Linked DNA regions of Homo sapiens: regions 1 and 3 are each linked to region 2. Evidence: promoter capture Hi-C in human tissues and cell types (Jung and others, 2019). All regions are on one chromosome and are shown on one strand. The core of a region is centred on a gene start or on the middle of the fragment in contact, and the rest is flanking DNA. Distances in the headings are between cores, read along the strand shown. Region 1 overlaps GRAP2 (GRB2 related adaptor protein 2). Region 2 holds the start of MGAT3 (beta-1,4-mannosyl-glycoprotein 4-beta-N-acetylglucosaminyltransferase). Region 3 overlaps TNRC6B (trinucleotide repeat containing adaptor 6B).

What was found. The method cuts DNA at HindIII sites, captures the fragments that hold promoters and counts their contacts. A contact is called where the count stands out against the background at its distance.
Region 1: a contact is called between a fragment that was not itself captured here and the fragment with the promoter of MGAT3 in region 2, in 1 of the 25 tissues and cell types used here (spleen).
Region 3: a contact is called between a fragment that was not itself captured here and the fragment with the promoter of MGAT3 in region 2, in 2 of the 25 tissues and cell types used here (dorsolateral prefrontal cortex and lymphoblastoid cells).

The regions. Positions count from the first base shown.
Region 1 is chr22:39,972,456-39,977,560 of GRCh38, reverse strand. It overlaps GRAP2 (GRB2 related adaptor protein 2), which reads right to left. Exons shown (of 8, transcript NM_004810.4): 8 at 3,840-5,105. Among named protein-coding and RNA genes, the nearest start is that of TMA7B, 15 kb to the right of the region's middle. The HindIII fragment of the contact is 5,794 bases long and covers 1-5,067 here.
Region 2 is chr22:39,455,169-39,459,909 of GRCh38, reverse strand. MGAT3 (beta-1,4-mannosyl-glycoprotein 4-beta-N-acetylglucosaminyltransferase) reads right to left here and starts at 2,898. Exons shown (of 2, transcript NM_002409.5): 1 at 2,353-2,898. RefSeq lists an enhancer at 1,253-1,452 and silencers at 1,773-1,902, 1,913-2,182, 2,913-2,972. The HindIII fragment of the contact is 12,980 bases long and covers 1-4,741 here.
Region 3 is chr22:40,296,806-40,301,350 of GRCh38, reverse strand. It overlaps TNRC6B (trinucleotide repeat containing adaptor 6B), which reads right to left. Exons shown (of 23, transcript NM_001162501.2): 13 at 765-896; 14 at 346-441; 15 at 18-201. Among named protein-coding and RNA genes, the nearest start is that of ADSL, 47 kb to the left of the region's middle. The HindIII fragment of the contact is 7,080 bases long and covers 1-4,545 here.

The DNA of each region.
Region 1 (5,105 bases), core at 921-3,420, 520 kb before region 2:
TGCATCTAGGCATCAACCATTTATTGACTGCACTGCATATCTTTGACCTAAAAAAGATTTGGTCTAGCAGAGGAGGCAGATCAGTGAATCACTGACAATGGTGTTCTGAGTATTGGGATAGAGGGAGAACAAGGTTACTACAGGAACATAAGTGGGGGTGGGGGAACGGGGGCACTTACATCAACCATAATATTGGGATGGTTTCCCAGTGGAGACCTGGAGCCCTGAGCTAATGATTTCAAAGTAAGTAACAGTTGTCTGGACCCACGCTGCCCTATAAGGCAGCTCTTTGCCACATGTGGCAATTTCAGTCATTTATACCAGGCATATTTCAAGTATTCAATAGCCACATGTGGCTAGTGGCTAGTGGCTACCACATTGGATGGAGCAGATACAGAGCTTTTCCCTCATCACAGAAAGTCCTAATAGACAGCCCTTGTCTAGACAAAACAGTGGGAGAAAGCATTCCAGGCAAAAAGAACAGAATGTAGGAGACCAGAGGTCTTAGAAAACATGCCTCATTCTGGGAACCACAGATAGTTCTAAGGGACTGAAGTAAAGAGTGTTTGGGACTGGAGAGGTAGAAGATGTGGCTGAACGAACAAGGCAGCAGGCAGATCACAAAAGGCCTTTAGTGCGAAGCTAAGGAGGTTAAACTCCAGCCTGAAGACTATGGAGAACCCAAAGATTTGAGCAGGAGCTTGGTATCATCAGCCTGTCTGCGAATAAGATCTCCCTGACTGCGTTGGAGGCTGTATTACAGGGGGCCAGCCAGAAAGGCAGGGAGACGAGTGCTGAGACTATTGCAGTCATCAGGGAAAGAAGTGAGAGAGGTTTGAAGTAAGGCAGTGGCTGTGGAATGGGTGCAGAGAAGGGACAGAGTTGAGAGAATGTGAAGGACCCGATGGCTGATTGTGTCTGACCCTGAAGAGGTGCTTTGTAAATATTTGTTGACTTAATGAATGAATTACAGCAAAACTTAAAACAATAGAAGTGAGTGCACAGCTACTAGGCTTCTAGGTAGTATCTACTGCACAAATGGTGTGGTGCAGAGGACACCCTTGCCTTGGTATGGACAGGCTGAAGTGTTGACTTTAGACTGAGAAAACAGCAAATATTTTGACCATGCTAATCAGTCCCCAGTGTGGGCTGTTGTGTTTCAGGTTAGCTGTGAGCTAACGATGGCATGTAGGTACATTCCCCTTCTTTTGAGCTCAAGGAGAAAGAGGCAACAGGGAAGAGTGAGAAGAGAGAGACGGAGGGAAGGGTTGGTATCCCTTGTTCTGTCTGATGGAGGGAGGGCTCGGCTGAGAAGAGAGCCAGCTGTGCTCATGGAAGATGCTGAGGGAGCCAGGGTCCAAGCAGTGCCTCTCAGAATTGGGCACAGGCTGGCCATTCTCCCCTCTACCTCTTCCCCAATCTCCTTGTCATGTGGACTGCAGGGCAGATTTGGTGTCCTGAAGGATTGGGTCAATTCACCAGCAGATAAATGTGGTGCATAGTGGATCCGCAGCATCTGGGAAGGCATTGTCAGCAGAGGATGCGTGGGGCAACAGAACACTGGAACCAGAGTAGGAAGCGTGAGTATACTGGTGCCTAAACACGTGAGAGATAACAGCCTCCCTCTCTTGGCCTCTCAGAAGTTAACTGGAGGAGAATCCGAAGACAGTGGCTAAAGCTACTGGAACCTGGACATCATTGTAAATATGACCTTGTTTGCATCTACAGGTCTGTTAGGCCCAAGACAGTTGAGTTACAAAATGAGTAAATAGATGAGATGAAGCAGGTCCAATCATTCCTTCATTAGAAAAATATTTACTGAGCCTCTGTGTGCCTTGCATAGTGCTAGATGCTGGGTGTACAATGGTTTACAAAACAGAGGTGACCCCTGCTCCGTGGAGCTTACAGCTCCAAGTTCACTTGAACTTGGGAGGCAGAGGCTGCAGTGAGCTGTAATAGCCATACAGCTCAGTCTGGCACCATCATCTGTGTACGTGCTATTCAGGAAAAGCACAGGATTCATAAGACCATCTTAGGGGAAGGATTATTTTAGATTAGAGGGCAGGGGAGGACTGTTTGGAAGTGACATTTAAACCCAGACCTGGGCCAGGCATGGTGGCTCACACCTATATTCCCATCACTTTGGGAAGCCAGGGTGAGTGGATCACCTGAGGTCAGGAGTTCAAGACCACCCTGGCCAACATGGTGAAACCCTGTCTCTACCAAAAATGCAAAAATTAGCCAGGTGTGGTGACATGACCCTGTAATCCCAGCTACTCGGGAGGCTGAGGTGGGAGAATCACTTGAACTTGGGAGGCAGAGGCTGCAGTGAGCTGAGACTGTGCCACTGCACTCCAGCCTGGGCAACAGAGCCAGACCCCATCTCAAAACAAAAACAAAAACAAAAACAAAAACAAAAACAAAAAACAAAAAACAGAAAACAAAAAACCAACCCAGACCTGGAGATGAACAAGAGTTAGCAGGGTTAGCAGGGGATGTGCCTCCAGGTAGCAAGAATGGCAAGTGTGAAAGGTTTGGGGACAAATCCTTGGCCATTTGGAGGCTGAAAGGCCAGTGGGGCAGGAGCATAAAAGCAAGGGGCAGGGGAGGCAGAAGAGGAGGCTGAGGAGGGAGGCAGGGGCCGGACTTCACAGGGCCACATTAGGACTTTGGACTTAAGCCTAAATCCAGTGGGAAGGGGAGTGATGTGATCGGATTTATTTTTACAAAGATCGCTTTGGCATCTGTGTGGAGGACCAGATTACGGGAGAGAATGCAGGGAGAAAGGTATGAAAGCTGACAGTTGCCAAAGGAAGAGATGATGGTGGCATGGCCAAGGTGATGGAGTAAAGTGGAGGAACTGAGGAGGCATTTTTTAAAAAGCATTGAGACAATCAAGGTTTTTCTCACACACTTGCCTTGGTATAGAGGGGCTAAAATGTTGGCTTAGACAAGGCAAACAGTAAATATTTTGGCCATGCTAATCTGTCCCGAGTGTGGGCTGTTGTGTTTTAGGTTAGCTGGGAGCACAGTCCCCTGCCTCAACCAGGGCCACATCTGACCAGAGTCAATTTTATGACTGAAGATTTCCTGACAAAGCTTTTACAACTTCTGCAATCTCTGCTGATGTTTAAAATAATTACTATTAGGAAATAGTAATTATTATAGGAAATTCCTGTTTGCATTTCATCTGAATTCCTCTCACATTACATTTTTTTAATTCTAGAGATAAGGATGCTAAAATAATAAGTCACCTGGGTAGCCAAATATGAATGACGTCATAATGACCGTTCTGAATTGCATCTGTCCCAAAGCCAAAGTGACCTATTCGTTAGCAGCGAAGAAAAAATGGCCGAATATCCTCAGAAGAAGAGCCCAATTAGAGTTGTGCTCACTGCTAAGTTCTTTGCCTTTGCTCCTTAACATGTGGACCTAGCAACAGCACCCAGTAGCTTGTTAGAAATTCAGGACCAAGTTGGAAGCTGCATTTCAACACGGTCCCCAGGCAATTCGTAGGCACTTTAAATTTTGAGAAGCACCATGGTTAGATCACCCTAGGGCCATCTAAAAGTGGGTGGGCAGTGGCAGGTGCCAGATATTTGAAATGCGGTGAGGCACAGCAAGTGGTTAGGAAAACCCAACAACTGGTCCAACAGGACCTGGCTTTTCTCTGGAAGCTTCAAGTTCCCAAGTCACATAGAGTGTTGCAGCCAAACTCGGGGACAATGTGTTTGTTGGCTGCTGGTTCTGTGGCTGGTGAGAGGAGCTGGCTCAACCCTCCTCTGGTGCTGAAATGCTGTCAGGTAGAAACTAGGGCCCGTGGGGACACATGCGGAGGGGCTCCCCCTGGCAGCACCAGAGGCTGAGGGGGGTTGAGCTCTCTTTCCCCCTCCCCTCCATAATGTGGACAGTTTGGTTCTTGTCCTCTTTACCTGGCCGCTAAGAGCCCTCATTCCTTGTAGGTGGTTTGGGTGACTTTCCCGCTTCCTTCTGAATGGAGGCTGATGAGCAAGGGAAAGATGCTTTGGCATCTCAGTACAAAATACTCTTCAGTAGCTTTTGCTACAACAGAACACCGAGCTCCAGGGGTTCTGAAAGCTCTGCTCATACCGCCTGCCTACGGGGTCAGCTCCTGCAGGCCGATGACCCCTGTCACCCCCTGGTCTCGTTCTCACTCTCTACCTGAGGGGTATGCAACGCAGACACCAGACACGGCCTGGCCAAACAAGGACACTTTGTTTTATTACTGCTTTCCTGAGAAGCCTTTCAAGGCACAAAGTCTCCACCAGAATCGAATCACATACCTCCGTCTAACTAGAGCTGGTCCTCCCACATCATCAGACAACTGGATGGAGTTTGTGGGCTGTTTAAAGCATATGGTTTGTAAATACTGTAAAATCAAACATTACTTATGGCTTTTATTTACTGCAGCATTTCACATTACCTAGCACCAAAATAGCTGAGGAGGTCTTCTCTGCCTTTGTTCTTTCTCCTGTTCTTTTCCTTATGCTTCTTTGCTCCCTGCCTTCCGCAGCAGCGGTTTCTCTGCTCTGATTCTTCCTCTCCCCACTGCCCAGCCCTCCTCCTGCACCATCTGCCCACCAACTCCACACCGTTCTCTTCCCTGGCCCCACTCACCCTCTCCCTTTCCTCCCCCTGTGCCTCTCACGCTGCCCCTTGATCCTCCTGGATGTCTTAGCTACCTTTCCCTCTCTCTGCTTTCACTTCCAAAAGCTGCAGGTGCTCCTTACTCACACTCGACTCCCTCCTGCCTCCACCAGGCTATTTTCTTTTCCCTCCCAATACCCACCACAGAGTTCCTTTTTTCCTCTTTCCTCTAAAGGAAACATGAGGATCAGAGAACTGTAGAATCACAGTCACAAGGGACACTGCTTGTGCTACACTGGCAGTCACTTCTGAGTCAGAAAATCTTTCTTCTCCGATCACCTTCAATAACGGCTGCCCCCAACCCCATCCCTCCTTAGAGCAAGAGAGGTTGGGGAAGAGAAAACTTCCAGGCTCCCTCACCAACACTTTCACCCCCTTTCCTGTCTCAGCACACACACAGACACACAGATGCATGCACGCACATGTCCACACATGCA
Region 2 (4,741 bases), core at 1,649-4,148:
GCCTGGCCCGCCAGCTGGCATCGGCATCCTCGTTTTCCAGGTAATAATACCGCAGCCAGCGATCTCTTGAGTGCTGCTCAGGTGCCAGGCACCCTGTGTGCATCCTCTCATTCAACCCTCTCTGCAACTCATTCCATTCAAAATTCTCCCCCATTTGATCACACCTGGAATCCGAGCACTTTGGGACATAGAGGCAGGAGGATCACTTGAGCCCAGGAGTTCAAGACCAGCCTGGCCAACATAGCAAAACCTCATCTCTATTAAAAACTTTTTAAAAAATTAGCAGGGTGTGTTGGCTCACGCCTGTAGTCCTAGCTACCCAGGAGGTTGGGGCAGAAGGATCCCTTGAGCCCAGGAGGTTGGGGCTGCTGTGACCTATGATCACACCACTGCACTCCAGCTTGGATCACAGAGTGAGACCCTGTCTCAAAACAAAAACAAAAACAAAACCTCCCCATTTCACAGATGTGGAAACCGAGGCTCAGAAAGCTGACTTCCTGAGGTGGTCCAGTTACTACAGAAAAAGAAATCATCAGGGTTGGGCGAGGTGGCTCACGCCTGTAATCCCAGCACTTTAGGAGGCCAAGGTGGGTGGATCACTTGAGGTCAGGAGTTCGAGACCAGCCTGGCCAACCTGGTGAAACCCCATCTCTACTAAAAATACAAAAATTAGCCGGGTGTGGTGTCGGGCACCTGTGGTCCCAGCTACTCGGGAGGCCGAGGTGGGACAATTGCTTGAACCCAGGAGGTAGAGGTTGCAGTGAGCCAGGATGGCACCACTGCACTCCAGCCTGGGCGACAGAGTGAGGCTCCATCTCAAAAAAAAAAAAAAAAAAAGAAAAGAAAAGAAAAGAAAAAGGAATCACCAGTGTGCCTCAAGTAGCCCTGACCACACCAAGGGCACCAGGCAGACCCTTAGAATGGGTCTGAGCCAGCGGCATCCCCCCAGCCAGGTCTTGGCTCCCTGCCGTCCTCAGGACCAAGTGCCAGCTCCCTGCTGTGCCCTCCCACCTCACCTCCACCTGGCCTCCCTGCCCAGCCTCTGCCCCGTTTTCATCTCACTTCTTCCAGGGGGCACCCACAGTGCCTGACTGTTCCCACTGCCACCTCTCAACACACGCCAGACACTCACACCTCTGAGCCTTTGCTCATGCCATTCCCTTGGCCCACAACGCCCTTCCCACCTTTCTCTACCCAGAGATCTCTGGCAGCTTCCTGTCGTCATCTCTTCCAGTAACCTCTCTCTTCCTCCTGGGCTGGGACCCCTCTTTCAAACCTTCCTAGGACCCAGAGCGGCTCCCCTTAGCACTCCTTAGACTGAAAACCCCCTCAGAGCTGCAGCTCCTGGGGGTGGGGGCTCTCCCCTCCATCCTTCTGCTGGGCTCCATGTCTGGATCTTTCATAACTGCTCCCCCTCCCCAAACGACACGCCAGTGCTCACAACTCCCCCATCAAGGCGAATCTGGACTGGTGTGTCCCAGGAATGAAGTGGGGAACCAGGGAGGAATCCCACTGGGGTAGTGTGTCTGCCCACACCCCATCAGGGGCCTTCAGGGGCATCTTCCGGGGCTGGGGGTCATCCGACCTCAGACCACTAGGTCTGGCCGCGCGGCATCCCTTCCTGCTGCACCCCAGCTCAGGAACCCCACCATACACACACCCAGGCGCACTCCCCTCCCCACTCCCGGTTCCAGAACTCACTATTTGCAGATATTTATAGCGCCCTCCCTCAGCCAGGTTCCCTCCCCCGCCCTGGGCAGAGCAATGCAAGGAGCCGGGGGCCCCCACCCCGGTAAATGGCCGGGGGCCCTCTCCACATTTGCCTCTGCCTGGTCCCCAGGGGTAGCTACGGCCGCAGCCCCCGCACCCGCCCAGCCCCCGACTGCGCTTGGGCCTCGGCTGCCGCCGCCGCAGTCTGGGGTCGGGGGTGGGGAAGGCGGGCGCGGAGGCCTCCCACCCCAGCCCCGCGCCGCGCCGGAGGTTGTGGGGGAGCCGCGCCGGAGGCTGGGGGGTGCCGCGCACAAAGCACGGCTCGAGCCCCGCGCCTCGGGGACGTCCCCCGCCCGGCCGTGGGAGGGGGTCGGGCGCTGAGGCTCTGCCCTCCGGGGACCGGGGAGCTCGGAGGAGCGGCGGGTAGGGGGAGGGGGCCCGCGCCGAGCGGCTTCCCCGGCATCCCGCCCCCACCGCGGCCTCCGGGCCCCCAGCCCCAGTGCGCCCGCGCCCGCCCCCTAAGGTCACGCTCGGGGAGTGGGCCGCGGAGCCGGGCGGGGGGCGCCAAGCGCAGCGCGGGAGGGCGGGCAGCGCGGGGATAGAGGGGCCGCGGCGCCCCCCAGGACGCCGGGGTCAACTCACCCATCGCCCGCTGGGTCTCAGCAACGGCGGCAGCAGCGGCGGCGGCGGCTCCGCGGCCCCCGGGGTCCCCGGCGGGGAGATGCTGGCGTCCGCCGCAGCCTCTCGCCCCATCCCGGGCTCCGGCGGCAGCGGCTGCGGCGGGCGCCCGGCATCGCAGGCAGCGCGGCCCCGGCCCGGCCCCGATCCCCTCCCCCCACCCCCACTTCCACCCCGTCCCGGGGACCCGGCGCGGCCGCTCGGCTGCACCCCGGGGCGGCGGCGGGGGCCCGGCGAGCGGACGGGCGCGGGGGAGGGACCGCGGCGGGCGCGCGGGGGGCGCGGAGGCGAGGCCGAGCGCGGCGCGCAGGGGTGCCCGCTCCCGCCGGCTCAAGCGGCTCCGGCCCCCACCCCGCCCCCTCCGCAACCCCCTCCCCTCCCCCGCCAGCCGGGCTCCGCCGCCGCGCCGGGCCGGGGGCGCCTCGCACCGCAGACTCCGGCCGCCGCCGCCCCGCGCCGCCCGCGCGTGCTGGATCGAGTGTGTGCGTGTGCGAGCGAGTGTGTGTGAGTGCGAGTGTGCGCGCGCCCCTCCTGTGACCGTGCGTGCGCCGGCCCACGGCCCGGGGCGGCCTGCGCGGGGGCGTGTGCGGGGAATGCGGGTAGTTCGGAGTGCGGGCCTGGTGTGCGTGCGGGGCAGCAAGTCCCGTTCTGTGTATGCGTGGACGGGTGCGTTCCGCAGCGTGCCCGGGTCGGTGTGACTCCGTGTGCCCGAGTCTGTGCCTGTGTGTGCATGGACGTGCAGATCCGTGTTGCGGTGTGTGCGTGGATGCGCCTGTGCCCGCGTGAACCTGGGCCGGGATTTCGCATAGGCATCTGTGACCATGTGCAGAGGCCTGGGCCTGTGATGTGTGCACGGTGCCGGGCCTGTTACGGTGTCTGCAGAGTCTGTGTGTCTGCTTGGGGCGTGGGTGACCGCTGTACACCGGCCTGTGTCCTTCCGTCCGACCCCCTCCGTCCCTCACATGCCCGAAGCCACCTGCGCACTCCTGGGGTAACTGGGGGGGCCTCCCCTCCCCCGCCCCCCTCACCCGGCCACCCTAGGCCCGGTCGGCCCTGCCAACCCTCTTGAGCCTACTCTCCTGCCACTTGCCCACCAGCGGTTCTCCGAGGGCCCACCGTGTCGTGCCCTGGCTCCTCGTGGCCTTGCTCTAGGCCATTCCTCTCAGGGCTCAGAGGCGTCCCCCACGTGTTTCCCGCCTTTCAAGTGGTTCCGTTCTGGGGCCTACAGAGCAGCCACTTCCTCCCGCGGTGCGAGGCACAAGGCATTGTGGGTACGCAGCAGACATCTCTGCGCCGCCATCGTCGAAGGTGCAGGGATGCGCTACCTATTCTATATCCCAGCGAATGTGCTCCAGAATAGTCCCAGAGGCCTTTGCTGAACCATCCGGGCTGCCTAGGGCTGGTCTACCTGCTCCAGGTGCCTCCGTGCCCAGCTTCATCCATCCTTGCTGAGGAGGCAGAGTGATCCTACTCCAACATTCACTTGAGCAGGTCACTCTCCTGCCTGCACCTTCAATGGCTCCCACTTGCCCTCAGCTTAAGTTCAGTGCCTGGGCGGGGCACAGGGAGCCCCTGGTGACCTAGTCTTGCCCCCTTCTTCAACGTCACCCTCACTGCTCTTTTCTTCCTGGAGGCTCTCTCTAAGCAAGGGTGGGCAAACCATTTGCTTTAAGAGATTGATTGTAAATCTTTTAGGCTTTGCCAGCCATATGGTCTCTGTCCCAACTACTCAACTCTGCCATCGTAGCATAAAATCAACCATAGACAATACGTAAAAGAATGAGCCTGGCGGTGTTCCAATAAAACTTTATGGACACAAAAATTTGAATTTCGTGTCATTTTCACGTGTCCAGAAACATTTTTTGATGTTTTCCCAACCATTTGAAAGTGTAAGATCCATTCCTAGTTCCTATCACTCTAAGCACATTCCATTATAACATCTCCATGGGCCGGGCATGGTGGCTCATGCCTGTAATCCCAGCACTTTGGGAGGTTGAGGCAGGTGGATCAGAAGGTCAGGAGTTCAAGACCAGCCTGACAACATGATGAAACCCCATCTCTACTAAAAATACAAAAATTAGCCGGGTGTGGTGGCACACGCCTGTAATCCCAGCTACTCGGGAGGCTGAGGCAGGAGAATTGCTTGAACCCAGGAGGCGGAGGTTGCAGTGAGCCGAGATCATGCCACTACACTCCAGCCTGGGCAACAGAGCAAGACTCCATCTCAAAAAAAAAATAAATCATCTCCATGACATGTGCTTAAGGTAATTGTCACTCCCCCAAAATCCAGTCTATTCTGCCCTGCAAAAATGTTGCCCTCCTCCTCTCCCCAGCCTGGCTGTTCAACCCTCTC
Region 3 (4,545 bases), core at 103-2,602, 840 kb before region 2:
CTCTACCAACAACTTACCAGAACCATATCCAGGTATTGGCCCTTTGGTTTGAAGGTCTGGGAGCCCCACATTCAATGCGTTGGGTACCATGTTGTCCAGATGCGGCTTGGGCCCAACAGGATGAGAGGGCGAGTGCTTCATGCCTGGCTGCCTCTGCTGCTGCTGCTGCTGCTGCTGCAGTGCACTCACCATTCGAGCCAGCTGAGGGCCAAGAGAGACAGACACGTGATAAGCACGGCCCCGAACTTCCCAGGAAAAGACTGTGCCCGGTTCTTTGCCATCAGAGGCTAAGCCGGGATGTACTCCTCCAACACAGCACTGGAGGGACCCTGCCTACCCACGTACCTGCTGCTCTTGCTGTTGGCGTACAGCTTGAGAAATCTTTCTCTGGTTCTGTAACAACTGCTGCTGTTGCTGCTGCTGCAAGAGAAGCTGACATGCCTACAAAACAAGGGGGAAAGACAGAAAACCAAAGTTTCCTGAGATTGATTTACTGAGGACACCTAAAGGGTCTGTGCACTGAAGTACAGGTCACACAATCAAAAGTATCCAGGAGGGAAGTAACACCAAATTCCCGGTCTCTTGGTTACATTTTCCTCCAGTTGAGCTGACAACCCTTAAGCACACTCCATAGTTTGCAAAGAAGTGTGGACTAGCACCCTTTGAACATAGAAAGTGGCAAAGATGTGGGAAGCAAATCAAAGCTAAAGAAAAAAAAAAAGCAAATGACCTTTTTAGCCACAGGAAGAAAATCTTCTACTTACCAACTGAAACTGGGGAATTTGTGGAAGCTGGCTCAGCATGGCAATTTGTTGAGGAGATAACTGGGGCCCCACATTGAAAAGACCTGGACTCAGGCCACTGTTGGGAAACTGCTTGAGCATTGAGGCAGAAACCTAGCCAAAAAAATAAAAAAGAAAGAAAAGAAAAGGAATCTTCAGAATTTATCAAAATAAAACTGTTTTTCTGTGAAAAGAATCTTGATGAATCTAAAGCAAGAGTTGTCAAACTTTTCTGTGAAAAATATATAACAGGAAAAATACACTCAAGGGTTAACAATGATTATCTTGGAGCAGTGAGATTACAACAGTTTTTAAATTTTCTTCTTAGACTTTCCAATTTTCTACAATAAAAAGTATAAATTTTATATTCAGGAAAACATCTTCAAGAAAAAAAAATTGATGACAATATGGCTTTTATCCAACCAAGAAATTATTACTGGAAATGTGCCATAAAACAAAACATGCTACATTGCATAAAGCTAATAAATAATACTTACGTGAAAGTATTTCTGTGCTACAAGTAAGACAAATATATTAACTTGTAAATAGAAGACATGAGTTTCAATGCATGGCTTCTGATAGCAAACACCCACAGAGTGGCAGTGTAAAAAAAGAGCCAGCATCAAAGAGCCTGGAAGGTCACTGACCCGGCAGGGTCCTTCTCCCTGTTCTCAGGAGTGAGCTAGGCGAGGCTGCAGGAAGCTCTGGCGACAGAGGATTCCCTCCTATCTTTGGTTTGCTCCTCTAAGATGATTTAAGTAAGAAGAAGTGAGTTTCCCTGCACCCTCATCTACTGAACCCACTGGACTAGTTGGGGCCATGGAGAACAAGCTTAAGAACGTGTCCGTGAGTGCCAAGTAGTGTAGCACAATGGCCAAGAATTTAGTCCTAGAGGCTGGGCACAGTGGCTCACACCTGTAATCCCAGCAGTTTGGGGGACTAGCTTGTGCCTAGGAGATTGAGAACACCTGGGCAACATAGCGAGCTATCATCTCTTTAAAAAAATAAAAAGGTTAAAAAAAGACTTTAGAGCTGGGTGTGGTGGCTCACGCCTGTAATCCCAGCACTTCAGGAGGCTGAGGTGGGTGGATTACCTGAGGTCAAGAGTTCAAGACCAGCCTGACCAACATGCAGAAACCCCGTCTCTACTAAAAATACAAAATTAGCTGGGTGTGATGGCGCATGCCTGTAATCCCAGCTACTAGGGAGGCTGAGGCAGGAGAATTGCCTCAAGCTGGGAGGCGGAGGTTGTGGTGAGCCAAGATGGTGCCATTGCACTCCAGCATGGGCAACAAGAGTGAAATTCCATCTCAAAAAAAAAAAAAAAAGACTTTAGTTCTAGAGGCAGACTGCCTGGGTTTGTAATCCCAGCTCTGCCTGCCTCCCCAGTTTTGTTTTTTTTTTTTTTTTGTTTTTTTTTTTTTGAGACAGGGTCTCACTCTGTCACCCAGGCTGGAATGCAGTGGCGTGATCATGGCTCACTGCAGCCTTGACCTCCCGGCTGGTCTCAAACTCCTGGGCTCAAGCCATCCTCTCAAAGTGTTGTGATTACAAGTATGAGCCACCGCTCCCAACCCAGCTCTGCCATTTCTTTTTTTTTTTTGAGACGGAGTCTCGCTCTTTCACCCAGGCTGGAGTGCAGTGGCGCTATCTTGGCTCACTGCAAGCTCCACCTCCTGGGTTCACGCCATTCTCCTGCCTCAGCCTCCCGAGTAGCTGGGACTACAGGCGCCCGCCACTGCGCCCGGCTAATTTTTGGTATTTTTAGTAGAGACGGGGTTTCACCGTGTTAGCCAGGATGGTCTCAATCTCCTGACCTCATGATCCGCCCGCCTCGGCCTCCCAAAGTGCTGAGATTACAGGCGTGAGCCACCGCGCCCGGCCCCAGCTCTGCCATTTCTAAGCTGACTCAGAGCAAGTTACTCATTTAGCCTTTCTGACCCTTACTTTCCTGATCTCCAACTGGAATGACAACAATATTAACTTCAGTCATTATTAGATTTTATGAGTTAATCAATGTCAAATGCTTAGAGATGTCCTCCATAAATGTTCACATTATTCCACAGGCTGATTCTTCAAATGTCTTCAGACAATGATTACAGTTCCCTTGCATCTCATCTTCAGGCTCAATATGATCAGTTCTTTCACCTGTATCTCCTTCCATTTCTTGGTGAAGAGCCAAGAACAGAAAGGTATTTTCTAGAGTAGTCTAACACCAAGTAGACCCTAAGCATTCTGTTAAAAGCTGTGCTTTCATGAACAATGCCTAAGATGTCAATTTCTCTGGTGATTGTAACTCCTGATTCACACACTAAGCTTAATGTTAGTTAAAATCTATAATATTTAAAAACATGCTTTTGTTCCCTCATGTAATATTTAACCCATGTAGCTGGGTTTTTTTTAATGATTTTTTAAATTTATTTTTATTTTTATTTTTATTTTTTGAGATGGAGTCTCGCTCTGTTGCTCAGGCTGGAGTGCAGTGGCGCAATCTCGGCTCACTGCAAGCTCCACCTCCTGGGTTCACGCCATTCTCCTGCCTTAGCCTCCCGAATAGCTGGGACTACAGGTGCCTGCCACCATGCCCGGCTAATTTTTTGTATTTTTTTTAGTAGAGACGGGGTTTCACCATGTTAGCCAGGATGGTCTCAATCTCCTGACCTTGTGATCCACCTGCCTCGGTCTCCCAAAGTGCTGGGATTACAGGCGTGAACCACTGCACCCGGCCTATTTATTATTATTATTTTTAGATAGAGTTTCACTCTGTCGCCCAGGCTGGAGTGCAGTGGTGTGATCTCGCCTCACTGCAAGCTCCACCTCCTGGGTTCAAGCAATTCTTCTGCCTCAGCCTCCTGAGTAGCTGGGACTACAGGCACGCACCACCACACCCAGCTAATTTTTGTATTTTTAGTAGAGACGGGGTTTTACCATATTGGCCAGGCTGATCTCGAACTCCTGACCTCGTGATCCACCCGCCTTGGCCTCCCGAAGTATTGGGATTACAGGCGTGAGCCACCGTGCCTGGCCTTTAAATTTTTATTGATTTTTTAATTTGAGCTTAAGACCTTACGTATATCTTTATGAGCATGGCATATAGAAGATGCTCCATAAATATCTATTAAATGAATGAACCTCTATCATATTTAACTTCACAGTCACCCCACCAAGTTCTTGTTGATCCTATTATTCTACTTATTCCCAGTTTGTGTTCCCCCATCCCGTCACGGATGGGAATGCTGAACTTGATAGAGCTGAGGATAATCTAGTCATATGCCGCTAAAGCTTCCTTTCAATATGAAACGATCAGCCTAGGAATCGTCAGTTACTAATCCACACAACTGTTTTAATGTTTAGCCAATATATTTCCATCTCATCCAAAAGAGAGAAGTTGTCAAACGGCCTGTTAAAGTAGAGTACAACAACTATATTGTTCTTCTATGCCAGTATTTCTACCAATCAATGAAGGGAATGTATGAAAACTTGTTAGCAAACTATGATTATTGATTACTGCCATACGTACTCAAAAGCAATCTTCTTGATAATCTAGATTCTTTCCTGGAATTGGGACCAAGTTCATTAGTCTTCTAGCTACTTTTTCCTTATTTCTCCTTTCAGAAATCATTTTAAAAATTTCCCCAGGCTGGACATGGTGGCTGACACCTGTAATCCCAAGCACTTTGGGAGGCCAAGTCGGGCGGAGATCACTTGAGGCCAGGAGTTTGAGACCAGCTTGGCCAACATGGCAAAACCCTCTCTCTACTAA